Regions from separate parts of the Homo sapiens genome. Here all the other regions are linked to region 3. The links are contacts of gene promoters, found by promoter capture Hi-C in blood cells and fetal thymus (Javierre and others, 2016). All regions are on one chromosome and are shown on one strand. The core of a region is centred on a gene start or on the middle of the fragment in contact, and the rest is flanking DNA. Distances in the headings are between cores, read along the strand shown.

Region 1 (3,767 bases), core at 999-3,498, 890 kb before region 3:
AGCTGGGACTACAGGCGCCAGCCACCACACCTGGCTAATTTTTGTATTTTTAGTAGAGACGGGGTTTCACCATGGTCTGGATCTCCTGACCTGGTGATCCGCCCACCTCGGCCTCCCAAAGTGCTGGGATTACAGGCGTGAGCCACCGCGCCCGGCCTAATAATTCTTTATATTAAACTTTTCTTTACTGTGTTTCTGTCTCCTGACTGGGCCTATGTTATACTGATATTCAAAAGAAATACTTGGTCTCTAGACCTCTCCAAAGGCATAAGTATTCCATTCTCTGCAAGATAAAGCAGAGATAGTGGAAACACCCTTTCAATCTGCCTTCTGCAATAATCCAGCTTGCCACATTTACACACGCAAATGATGTAGCGCATCTGGTTGTCATTATTTTCCCACCATTCACAGAACAAAGGCCTGATATTTAAAGTCTTCCACCGTCTTCCACAAATGCATATTTATCACTCCATAATACAGTAAACAACACTACTAAAACTTCTCTTAGCCTAACTCTGGATGTGCTGACTTCCTCAGGCTGTTCTTATCCATCAGAATACCTTTGCCCTGTCTTTGCATACACAGGTTCATGCTTCAAGCAAAAGTCCACTGGCTAATGATCAGATGGTGATAACTGGGAATAAAGACAATAAAATGAGAAAAGCAAAAAGGCTGTTAGCTTGCTATAACAAGGGAGTCAGCCACCATCATTTGTATTTGGATGAGACTCAATGTCAGGCAGAGGAGTGGGTAAGCTTTATAGTGAAAAAAGGGAAGCCTCCAGGGATGTCCTCATTTGAGGCTGTTGGCCTGGGGAAGCAAGGGGCAGGGCATCCCAAGTGATTGGTTAGGGGCACATATTTGTCTTTCTCTGGTTGCTCCTAAGCTGGAAGCAGGACCGAAAACTAGGAAAGCTGCCAGTTTTTTTTTAATTGACAAATAATTTTTTGTTTCTTTTGTATTTTTAGAGATAAAGTCTCACTCTGTCCTTCAGGTTAGAGTGCAGTGATGCAGTCATGGCTCACTGAAGCTTCAACCTCCTGGGCTCAAGCAATCCTCCCATCTCAGCCTCCCAAGTAGCTGGGACTACAAGGACGCATCACCAAGCCTGGCTAATTTTAGTATATTTTTGTTGAGACAAGGTCACACTATGTTGCCCAGGCTGGTCTCAAACTCCTAGGCTCAAGCAATCCTCCCTCCTCAGCCTCCCAAAGTGCTGGGATTATAGGCATGAGCCATCGCACCCAGCTAACACATAATAATTGTACATATTTATGAGGTACATGTGATTTGTGTGTGTGTGTGAGGCAGAGTCTCACTCTGTCACCCAGGCTGGAGTGCAGTGGCATGATTTCAGCTCACTGCAACCTCTGCCTCCCAGGTTCAAGCAATTCTCCTGCCTCAGCTTCCCAAGTAGCTGGGATTACAGGCATGCACCACCACACCAGGCTAATTTTTTTTTTTTTTTTTTTTTTGAGACAGAGTCTTACTCTGTATTGCCCAGGCTGTAGTGCAGTGGTGCAATCTCAGCTCACTGCAACATCCACCCCCCAGTTTCAAGCGATTCTCCTGCCTCCGGAGTAGCTGGAATTACAGGTGCCCACTACCACGCCCGGCTAATTTCTGTATTTTTAGTAGAGACAGGGTTTCACCATGTTGCCCAGGCTGGTCTCGAACTCCTGGCCTCATGTGATCTGTCCACCTTAGCCTCCCAAAGTGCTGAGATTACAGGCATGAGCCACTGCACCCGGCCAAAATACATGTGATATTTTGATACATGCATATGATGTGTAATAATAAAATCAGGGTATTTAGGATATTCGTCACCTGAACACTTATTTCTTTGTGTTGGAGACATTTCAGATCTCTCCTAGCTATTCTGAAATATACAGTACATTGTTATTAACTATAGTCATCTTACTCTGCTATGGAACATTAGAATTTAGGCTGGGTGTGGTGGCTCAAACCCGTAATCCGAGCACTTGGAGAGGCTAAGCTGGGAAGATCACGTGAACCCAGGAATTGGAGACCAGCCTGGGCAATATAGTGAGATCCTTCTTCTACAAAAAATACAAAAATTAGCTGGGCATAGTGGTGTGCACCTGTGGTCCCAGCTACTCAGGGGCCTGAAGTGGGGTCCTTGAGCCCAGGAGGTCGAGGCTGCAGTGAGCTGTCATTGCACCACTGCACTCCAGCCTGGGCAACAAGCCAGATCTGTCTCACACACACACACACACACACACACACACACACACCCATGAGAAATTATTGCTTCTATTTAGCTGTATGTTTGTACACGCTAACCAACCTCTCTTCAGCCCCCTACTTTCCCCCAACACACACCCTTCCCAGCCTCTGGTGGCTATCATCCCAGTCTCTATCTCAATGAGATGAATATTTGTTTAGCTCCCACATATGAGTGAGTAAATGCAATACTTGTCTTTGTTTTTTTGTTTAAAAAAAAATTTACAGGGATGAGGTCACTATGTTGCCCAGGCTGGTCTCCAACTCCTAGGTTCAAGCCATCCTCCCACTTCAGCCTCCCAAGTATTGGGATTACAGGCTTACATAGTGACCTCTAGCTCTATTTATGTTGCTGCAAATGACATTTTCATTTTTTTTTCCTATGGCCAAATAGTATTCTATTGTGTATATATACTAATTTTTTTTGACATGAGGTCTCACTCTGTCACCCAGGCTGGAGTGCAGTGGTATGATCACTGCTCACTACAGCCTTGATCTCATAGACTCAAGAGATCCTCCCACCTCAGCCTCCCCAGTAGCTGGAACCACAGGTGTCTGCTATCACACCTGGCTAATTTTTTTACTTTTTGTAGAGATGAGGTCTCTATGTTGCCCAGGCTGCTCTCAAATTCCTGGGCTCAAGCAATCCTCGCGCCTCAGCCTCCCAAAGTGCTGGGATTATAGGCTTGAGTCACCACGCTCAACCTTATTTTTTGTCTTTTTTTTTTTTTTAGAGACAGGGCTTCCCTCTGTTACCCAGGCTGGAGTGCAGTGGCATGATCTTAGCTCACCGCAGCTTGAGCTAAGGAGCTGGGCTCCTGGGCTCAATGGATCCTCCCACCTCAGCCTCCTAAGTAGCTGGGACTGCAGGTGCGCCAACACCCTTATTTTTTGCCTTTTTGATAATAACCATTCTAAATGGGGTGAAATGGTATCTCATTGTGGTTTTGATTTGCATTTCCCTGATGACTCATGATATTGAGTATTTTTTTATATGTACCTATTTGTTTTTTGTACATCTTCTTTTGAGAAATGTCTACTCAGATTCTTCGCCCACTTTTTAATGGATTATTTGTGGTTTTTTGCTGTCAAGTTGTTTGAGTTCCTTGTATATTCTGGATATTAGTCCCTTGCCGCATGAATAGTTTGCAAATATTTTCTCCCATTCTAAAGGTTGTCTTTTCACTCAGTTGATTGTTTCCATTGCTGTGCAGAAGCTTTTTAGTTTCGCTTAATATAGTCCCATTTGTCTATTTTTGGTTTTGTTGCCTATGCTTTTGAAATTTTAGCCATAAAATCTTTGCCTCGTTCAATGTCTTGAAGCATTTCCCCTATGTTTTCTTCTAGTAGTTTTGTAGTTTCAGGTCTTATGTTTAAGTCTTTAATCCATTTTGAGTTGATTTTTGTATCTGGTGAGAGATAGGGTGCCAGTTATTAATTAAGTCCTAGGCTTTGGGGGCTGTTAGAAAAGTTACTCCTGGATTGTCACTAGAGATAACACCTGGCTTCCTGCAAGTATGACT
Region 2 (3,942 bases), core at 1,335-3,834, 740 kb before region 3:
TAAAACTGACATGAAAGTGTCTTAGTATCCAGTTTGCAAGTTTATCCAAGTAAAATGAACGAACTCCTACTTCCTCCTCTCTCTCTCTCTCTGTCTCTCTCTGTGTGTGTGTGTGTGTGTGTGTGTGTGTGTGTGTGTGTAATTTTTTAAAACCAACAACCTTAACTCAGGTTAATACGAAGTCAGTTCTTGGAATTAAAAAATTTAGATTTGGGTTCTCAAGCACCAATTATATTAAAATGAATGTTCAAAGTAGGGAGGCTATATATACAGTTTGAGGGGATATCGGAAAGAAAGTAATTATCCATTTATTGTATAGTTTTATATTCAGATAAGTTTGATACCATAAAAGTTTTCTTTTGTTAAGTATGAGAAATGTATCAGGAATCTCTAAATGTTGGAAATAGTCATTTAATGGATTGAGGCTTTTAAAACCTGACTGTATGTCTACTTCCTTAAAAAGCAAATAGAACACCAAATATGACATATCTGAAACAGTGAGGATAAAATTGCTTAAGCAGAGTAGTTATTATATGACCTGGGGAGCCTGGGGAATTTTGTAGTTGTTGGCTTTTTATTAGTGACTACTTCTTATTTTTTCCAATCCAGTCATAGGAAGACAGTGATTATAATTTTAGATGCCAGTTGAGAGGTTTTTAAGTGTTATATATTAGGGCAAATGGAGGTAACAAGGGTTTTTTATTTGAGAAGTAAGTAAGACTGTCTTGTTAGTGGAGCTGACCTCAAAAATCCAAAAATTGTATTTTTCTTATATAACAACATAGTCAAAAATTATTAAAATATGAGGCATTCTGGTAGAAATAGAGAGCGTCTCAGTTCTTACTGGTAAACTTAAATCAGTCTCTTGTTGAATTACCTAATATAAGAGAGTGAATATGAATTAGTTCTTAGATTTTTATTTTTCCTGTTTCTGATACCTGCCAGGGTTTTACTGTTTTTCTTCCATATTATCTTGGGTGACACGCACTTAATCCACTTAGACGTGCAATTAGAGGAAGTATACAGGGGTAATTTTTAGCTTTAAAAAATTTTTAAGGAAAGGGTTAGCTACAAAGGGGATATGCCATTTCAAAGCTTACCATCTATTTTGAAAGAATAGCCCCTCAAACAGCCAATCTTGTAAACTGATTTCTTTTTTTAACAGTAAAGAAATAATCTGTTTAAATGGTAAAAGCAAAATATATGAGAGAAAATTAGTTTTCTTAAGTCAGACCTTTAGTATTTCCTCCCGAGAGGCAAATAACATTTCTAATTTATTGTGTCACCTACTAGAAATACATGTGTACACATATACTCTATAATACCCCATATTTACTTAAAAGCTCATTACATTGGCACATACTTTGCCTTTTTCATGCAGAAATAGGTTTTTTTAAAGCGTACAGTTCAGTGGCATTAAGTACATTTATAGTGTGCAACCATCACTGCCTTCTGCCTCTAGAACTTTTTCATCTTCCCAAGTGGAAACTCTACCCATTCAACAATAACTCGGCCAGGCGCAGTGGCTCACGCCTGTAATCCCAGTACTTTGGGAGGATGAGACAGGCAGATCACTTGAGGTCAGGAGTTCAAGACCAGCCTGGCCAACATGCAGAAACCTTGTTGGTACTAAAAATACAAAAATTAGCAGGGCATGGTGGCGCGCACCTATACTACCAGCTACTTAGGAGGCTGAGGCAGGAGAATCACTTGAACCCAGGAGGCAGCTACCCCTGGCAACCACAAATCTGCTTTCTGACCATGAACTTTACTATTTTAGGGACCTCATAAGTAGAATCATACAGTATTTGTCTTTTTTGTAACTGGCTTATTTTCCTTAGCATAATGTCCTCAAGGCCCATTCATGTTGTAGCTTGTGTCAGAATTTCCTTTTTAAAGCTGAATACTATTCCATTATATGTATATCATTTTGTTCATCCATCATTGGACACTCAAGATTGTTTCTACCTTTTGGCTATTCTGAATAATGCTTCTGTGAACGTGGGTATACATGTATTTGTTTGAATCCTTGCTTTCAATTTTTAGGTGTATACCTAGAAGTGGAATTGCTAGACTATATGACAATTCTGTGTTTAATTTTTTGAGGTTTTTTTTTTTTTTCTTGGAACATGCTTTATTTTTCTGAGAGCTAAGTTCTAAATATTTCTGTGGAAGTAATATATGTTACATTGACATTGATAAAAATTGTGAAATATTTCATGTATGCATAAAAGTTATATTGACTTGCAAGATTCTTTAATCTGGAAATTGATAAATATGTTTGTTTTTAAAAATCTCATATTTTTCAGCCTGGCACTGTGGCTTATGCCTGTAATCCCAGCACTTTGGGAGGCCTAGGCGGGCGGATCACTTGAGGTCAGGAGTTCAAGACCAGCTTGGCCAACATAGTGAAACCCACCTCTACTAAAAATACAAAAATTAGCCATGTGTGGTGGTGTGCGCCTGTAATCTCAGCTACTCAGGAGGCTGAGGCAGGAGAATCGCTTGAGCCCAGGAGGTGGAGTTTGCAGTGAGTCAAGGTCGCACCACTGCACTCCAGCCTGGGCAACAGAGCTAGACTCCATCTCAAGAAAAAAGAAAAATATTTTAAATAAGTGTTTAAGGTTTGATTTCTTTGATAGAAATTATAAAAGGTGATAGAATCCCATGTATATTTACAAATGAGGAAGGGGATCACCTACATATTGTTAACTACCTAAAGTAAAACTAGAAAAAATTCTGTTTCCAGAATATTTTTGAAGTAGTATTTTCAACTCTTTTCATTCAAAAAAATTTTTTTTTGCATTTAGGCTGGAGGCAAAGCTGGAAAGGACAGTGGGAAGGCCAAGGCTAAGGCAGTATCTCGCTCACAGAGAGCTGGGCTACAGGTAATGAATCCATGCTGTCATTACATTATTATTTTCTTTACTGTTGTAATTTATGACCTATGTTTCATCAATTACAAAAATCTACTTGTATTACTACAGACTTTTTTTTTTTTTTTTTTTTTTTTTTTTTTTTTTTTTTGAGACAGAGTCTCACTCTGTCGTCAGGCTGGAGTGCAGTGGTGCAATCTCGGCTCACTGCAACCTCTGCCTCCTGGATTCAAGCGATTCTCCTGCCTCAGGCTCCCACATAGCTGGGACTGCAGGCGTGCGCCACCATACCCAGCTAGTTTTTGTATTTTTAGTAGAGACGGGATTTCACCATGTTGGCCAAGATGGTCTCAATCTCTTGACCTCGTGATCTGCCTGCCTCAGCCTCCCAGAGGGCTGGAATTACAGGCATGAGCCACCGCGCCTGGCTGAGAAACCCTTTTAATCAGGAAGGCTAAGCTGTAAACTGTTATCCTCTTGGCAGTGGTAAGCCATTGAGAGTTTGAGCCAGAGGACAACATTATCCAGATGATACCGAAAGAAGGGGGATGGGAACTTAAACTGATATGCACATTCTGTATTTTAGGTCTCCATGTATATTCCCAATTAGAATTTATTTTAAGGCATACTTAATTTGAAGTAGAAAATGGAAGGCCAATGGAGGTTTTTGCAGTGGTTTAGGAATAAAGTAACATACTTGAATGGGAAGGAGTAGAAAGCATGTGTGTGCAGAAAATAGGTGAAGCAGTATAAGGTTGAGAGAAAGTCACAGGTTTCTCTAAGGCTTAGAACCTAAGGAACAGAGGAGTTTGTAGTAGGGGCAAGTTATGAGTAAATTTAAATGGAATCATTTTGAAGTTCACTAAAACATCCATGTGAAAATGTCCAGAAGTTGGAAACATGAGTTCAGCTTTCTAATAGAGGTGATAGAATTAGGAATTTGAGATCATTTATGTAAAATGGATAGTTTATGTTATGGATGAGTTTCCTAACCTAAGAGAATGAGAAAGGAGCACAGGGACGTTGGTGGACCCCTGAAAAACTTTAAGAAAAGGCTGAGGAGTAG
Region 3 (4,007 bases), core at 435-2,934:
TGGTCTCCTTTCGAGAAGTAAGGGGTTTGGAATTGATTGGAAGGATAGGGAGTCCTGGGGGGTTCAGGGATCACACAGAGGACAGAAAAGACAGGTAGGGAGCTTGTGGCTGCACACTCATTTCAGAGTCTGGGAGAGGGAGCAGGGACTGGTTGTGAGGATTCCCCATGGGAATCCTCCCAGGACCCTAAGCAGGAGCTGCAAGTGCTGTTGAGAACCTGATGAGAGGTGGGGAGCATGAGGGAAGTTTGGCAGAAACACAGGAAAGCTACCAAATGCAGACAGCCAGGGGACGCAGGGCTGCTAGAGCGGTGCCCCAGAGCCAGGAGAGCAAGCCTGGAAGGAGAGCCAGAGGCAGGAGGGGCACAGGCAGCCCAGGGTGTGGGAAGCAGCCAGGAAAGATCTAGAGCTGGGGTGGCAGGGGAGGGGCTGCTGACATCAGGAATGTTGGATGGTGCCTTGGAATCTCCTGGGAGACAGGGATCACAAGACCCTCTGCCACCTTCCAGAGGGCCACGATGAAAACAGCTAAGATTTACTGACAACTGATTATGCAAGAGGCCGTGGGTTAAATGCTTCAGTGATGCATCACCTCATCTAATTTCCTGTACTAATGTAGGACCACCCATTGCTCACCACCACCTGAAGCCCTGTGCTCACCACCACCTGAAACTCTCTCACCTACGTGAGACCTCCTGGAGTAGGAGGGCAAAGGCAGGAGGGAGGGACGACGTGAAGCTGTGCCACCAACAGGGAGAGTGGTCCCATTAGTATGGCAGGGGGTGACACAGCACAGTCCCCTGTGGCTCAAGCCTAGTACCTGTCGCGTACTGGAGGAATGGGGATAAGCGACCCGTACAACCACAGCACCAACCCTAGAGCCACCGGCCCCCAAAAGCGGCCCTGCCGCCCGGGTGCTGGATGTGCCTCCACGCCAGCGCTGACCTCGGCCTAGCACAGGGTCCCTCCAGGCATCTGGGCTCGCGTGCGCATTAGTAAGCCAGCCATTCCTCCCCTAGCAGACTGGGGAGTGGCCAGACCCTACCGAATCCCCCTGTTCCCACCTGAGATGCCAGCCCCCCACACCCCCGCCCTGCCCTGGGCTCTTACCTTCTGCGGCCGTCCCTGGCCGCTTCCCTGGCTTGCCCCCCGCCTGGGCTTTTCGGACCCGCGGGGTGGGCTCGGGAGGCGGCGGGGCCTCCACGTCGTCCTCCCGGGGCTCAGGTTCTAGCTCTGACAGGAAGCCCTCGAGGAACTCCTCGATCTCGTCGTCGGTCAGCACCGTCTGCGGGCGCCCTCCAGGGCACAGGGCCAGCAACGCCAGGAGGCAGCTGAGCAGGGGCGCCCCGCGCACGGCCGCCATGGCCGCGGCACGCGCGGGGGGCTCCGGGGAGGGCGCGGGGGGTCAGGGGCTCTGGGTCTCTGGGAAAGGGCGGAGAGGGGATCGAGACGGGTGAGGGAATCCAGGAAGGGGCGGGAGAGAGGATGGGGTGAGCGAGGGAATCCGGGAAAGGGAGGGAGAGTGGATTAGGGTGGGCGAGGGGACCCGGGAAGGGGTGCTGGGGGGCTCCGAAGCCAGAGGGGCTCAGGGGTGGTCGGGGCGCTCCGAGGTCCTGGCGGCTAATAGGCGCTCCGGCCCCGCGTGGCGCACTCCCGCGCGGATAGCCGTCTCCAAAGCGCTGGCGGGGCCCGGGGCGGGGGCGCCGGGGCTTCCGGAGCCGGCTCCCCACCCCCGGGGAGGAGGAGGAGGAAGAGAAGGAGGAGCCGAGAGTGGACGGAGGGGCTGCGGGGGGGCGGGGGGCGGGGGGCGGGGGGCTAGGGGCGGGGCAGGCGGGCGGGCGCTGGCGGCGAGCGTCCCAAGCCCGGAGACTTGCGCCTAGGACAGAGGGGCAGGGGGCGGGGCGACTGGGAAGACAGAGGGCCTGAGGGAAGGAAAGGTGGTGGGGAGGGCCTGGGGTGCGGGTCTGAGGGGGCCGACATCCCTCCTCCTTCTGCCCTAGGCACCCCCCTTAAGGCGGGACCCCGAGTCCACCGGGGCTCTGAGCCCTCCGCGGGTGACCAGGAACCCTGGACGGAAAGCCGTGGTGTCAGGCCTCTGAGACCTCTCTCAATTCGGAGGGCCACAGAAAGGCCACCCCATCCTTCCCAGGCTCTGGAGCCTCTGCCCATGGGCCCTGCTGCATCCCAGCGTCAATTCATTCAGTCATCCTACCAACCTCTTCAGGTCGGTGTGGGGCCGGGCCCCGTGCTGGGCCCCAGGGAGGGACAGCACAGTGGGAACTCACTTTCCAGCCAGGAGGCAGGTGCAAAACTGCCCTCAGAGTGGCCAGCTGCCCCGCTGGGGGTAGGAGTCCCATGTAAGGGCATGCCATCCCTCCCCTCCGGGTCCCAACGTGGACAAATAGCCATTTATCACCTTCTTCTTACCAGAACTCATTTTTTAAAAAGTGTCTACCATACCTCCAGCTGCCACATGGACCCAGAGGGCCCAGAGGACCCAGAAGGCAGGTGGATTGAGTGTCAACTGATCCCAGGATCCATCAGGGATGTGCACCTTGGTGCCTGGTGTTTGCCATAAGGCTTCTCCAGGGCAAATGTTGGCTGCCCTACAACGGCCATCAACAGGCAGAGTGGTCCCATTAGTATGGCAGGGCGTGACACAGCACAGTCCCCCGTGACTCAAGCCTAGTCCCTGTCTCATACTGGAGGAATGGGGAGCTAAGGACAGAGCTCCGAGGACATTCCCCCTTAAAGGAATGAGGACACAAGAGAAAGCTCACAGGTAGTCCATGGGCCAAGTGCAGAGGCAGACAGCCCTAAGCCACGATTGTCTGCGGGGTTTGGCCCCAGTGAAGTAGTCAGGTAGGGAAGCCTAGGAGCCCCTGGGATGATTGACAGGGCAGAGTTTGGACCTGGGGTCAAAAGGAAAGAGGAAAAGTGGGTCAGGAAGCACCTGGGTCCCCAGAGCAGCCCCGAGTGAGTTGGAGCAGGCAGCAGCCGGGGAGGCCACAGTGGAGGCTGCTGGGCCTGGGATACATGCCACCCCCTGGGAGCAGGACCACAAGGAGGCCTTGCCTCCTCTCACACCTGGTCCTGCCAAGACCCTGCCTTTGCTTTCTCACTGCATCTCCTTGAAAAAGCAGTGGGACTGTGTCAGGTTCTGGCTCTACCTCCCAGGCACCACATCTCGGCAGGTAGCCTCAGTGCCGTCCACCTGTGTCCCTGTTCTCCTTGTCGTTCATACAGGATCATGCATGTGCTGTGCCTAGCACACATTCTTGGCACTCACACTGCTGCCTTTTAGCTCTCATCATTTGCCCTCAGAGATCAACCTGAGCTGTGCCCACTGGGGCGCTCAGAGCAGACCCTGAGCCCCAACACCCAGGCTCCCTGTGCACCTGAGCCTGCCTCTGCCTGCCACGTGCCCCCAGGCCAGTCCTGGTGGCAGCAAGGATCCGCAAGCTCTCCCCTTTCCTCATCCTCTGCAAAGCTCTGAATCATCTTTCTCAAAACTTGTTCTGGGAATTTGCTCCGTTGCCCCAGTTGAGCATGTCAAGCCCGGCGGCCCAAGGCTGGGGTGAAGCAGCGTGGCACGTCACTTCCCTGGGAACAACTCACACATGGATTGGATTTGGGTCCAACATCCTCTGCCAGGGAAAATAGAAGCCATAAGAAAACAAAAAAGGAACAGAAGGAGGCTTTTCTTCAGTCACAGCGAGTCACCAACAAAAACATGTGCAAAAGCTCTCATGGAGAGCTGGGCCACAAGGAGGGCCATGATGTTGGGGGCCCTCTGACACCAAGGGTGTGGGCAGGTGGATGGGAGGCAGCTGCCCTCCATGCCAGGCTGATGTGCCTCCCTTTGGGTGGTGGGGCTGGGACTCCCACTCCACTTGAAGACCTGCACCAAAAAGTCCTTTAGCCCTGTGCCCAGGCTCTGCCACGGGGCCGGTGAGGGGACTTCTCCCCTCTGCTGCCAGAGTGAAGCCAGTCAGGGGGATGGGAGG

What was found. Contacts are between HindIII fragments. The CHiCAGO score rates a contact against its expected background, and 5 or more counts as called.
Region 1: a fragment that was not itself captured here is called in contact with the fragment with the promoter of AEBP1 in region 3 in 1 of 17 cell types (fetal thymus); the score reaches 7.6 in fetal thymus.
Region 2: a fragment that was not itself captured here is called in contact with the fragment with the promoter of AEBP1 in region 3 in 1 of 17 cell types (fetal thymus); the score reaches 6.7 in fetal thymus.

What each region holds. Positions count from the first base shown.
Region 1 is chr7:44,995,336-44,999,102 of GRCh38, reverse strand. All of the region lies in intron 2 of LOC102723334 (a long non-coding RNA gene), which reads left to right. Among named protein-coding and RNA genes, the nearest start is that of CCM2, 3.0 kb to the left of the region's middle. The HindIII fragment of the contact is 2,431 bases long and covers 1,033-3,463 here.
Region 2 is chr7:44,842,223-44,846,164 of GRCh38, reverse strand. It overlaps H2AZ2 (H2A.Z variant histone 2), which reads left to right. Exons shown (of 5, transcript NM_012412.5): 2 at 2,811-2,888. Among named protein-coding and RNA genes, the nearest start is that of H2AZ2, 3.9 kb to the left of the region's middle. The HindIII fragment of the contact is 2,973 bases long and covers 1,098-3,942 here.
Region 3 is chr7:44,102,022-44,106,028 of GRCh38, reverse strand. It overlaps AEBP1 (AE binding protein 1), which reads right to left and starts at 1,684. Exons shown (of 21, transcript NM_001129.5): 1 at 1,111-1,684. The coding sequence starts at 1,363. The HindIII fragment of the contact is 6,426 bases long and covers 1-4,007 here.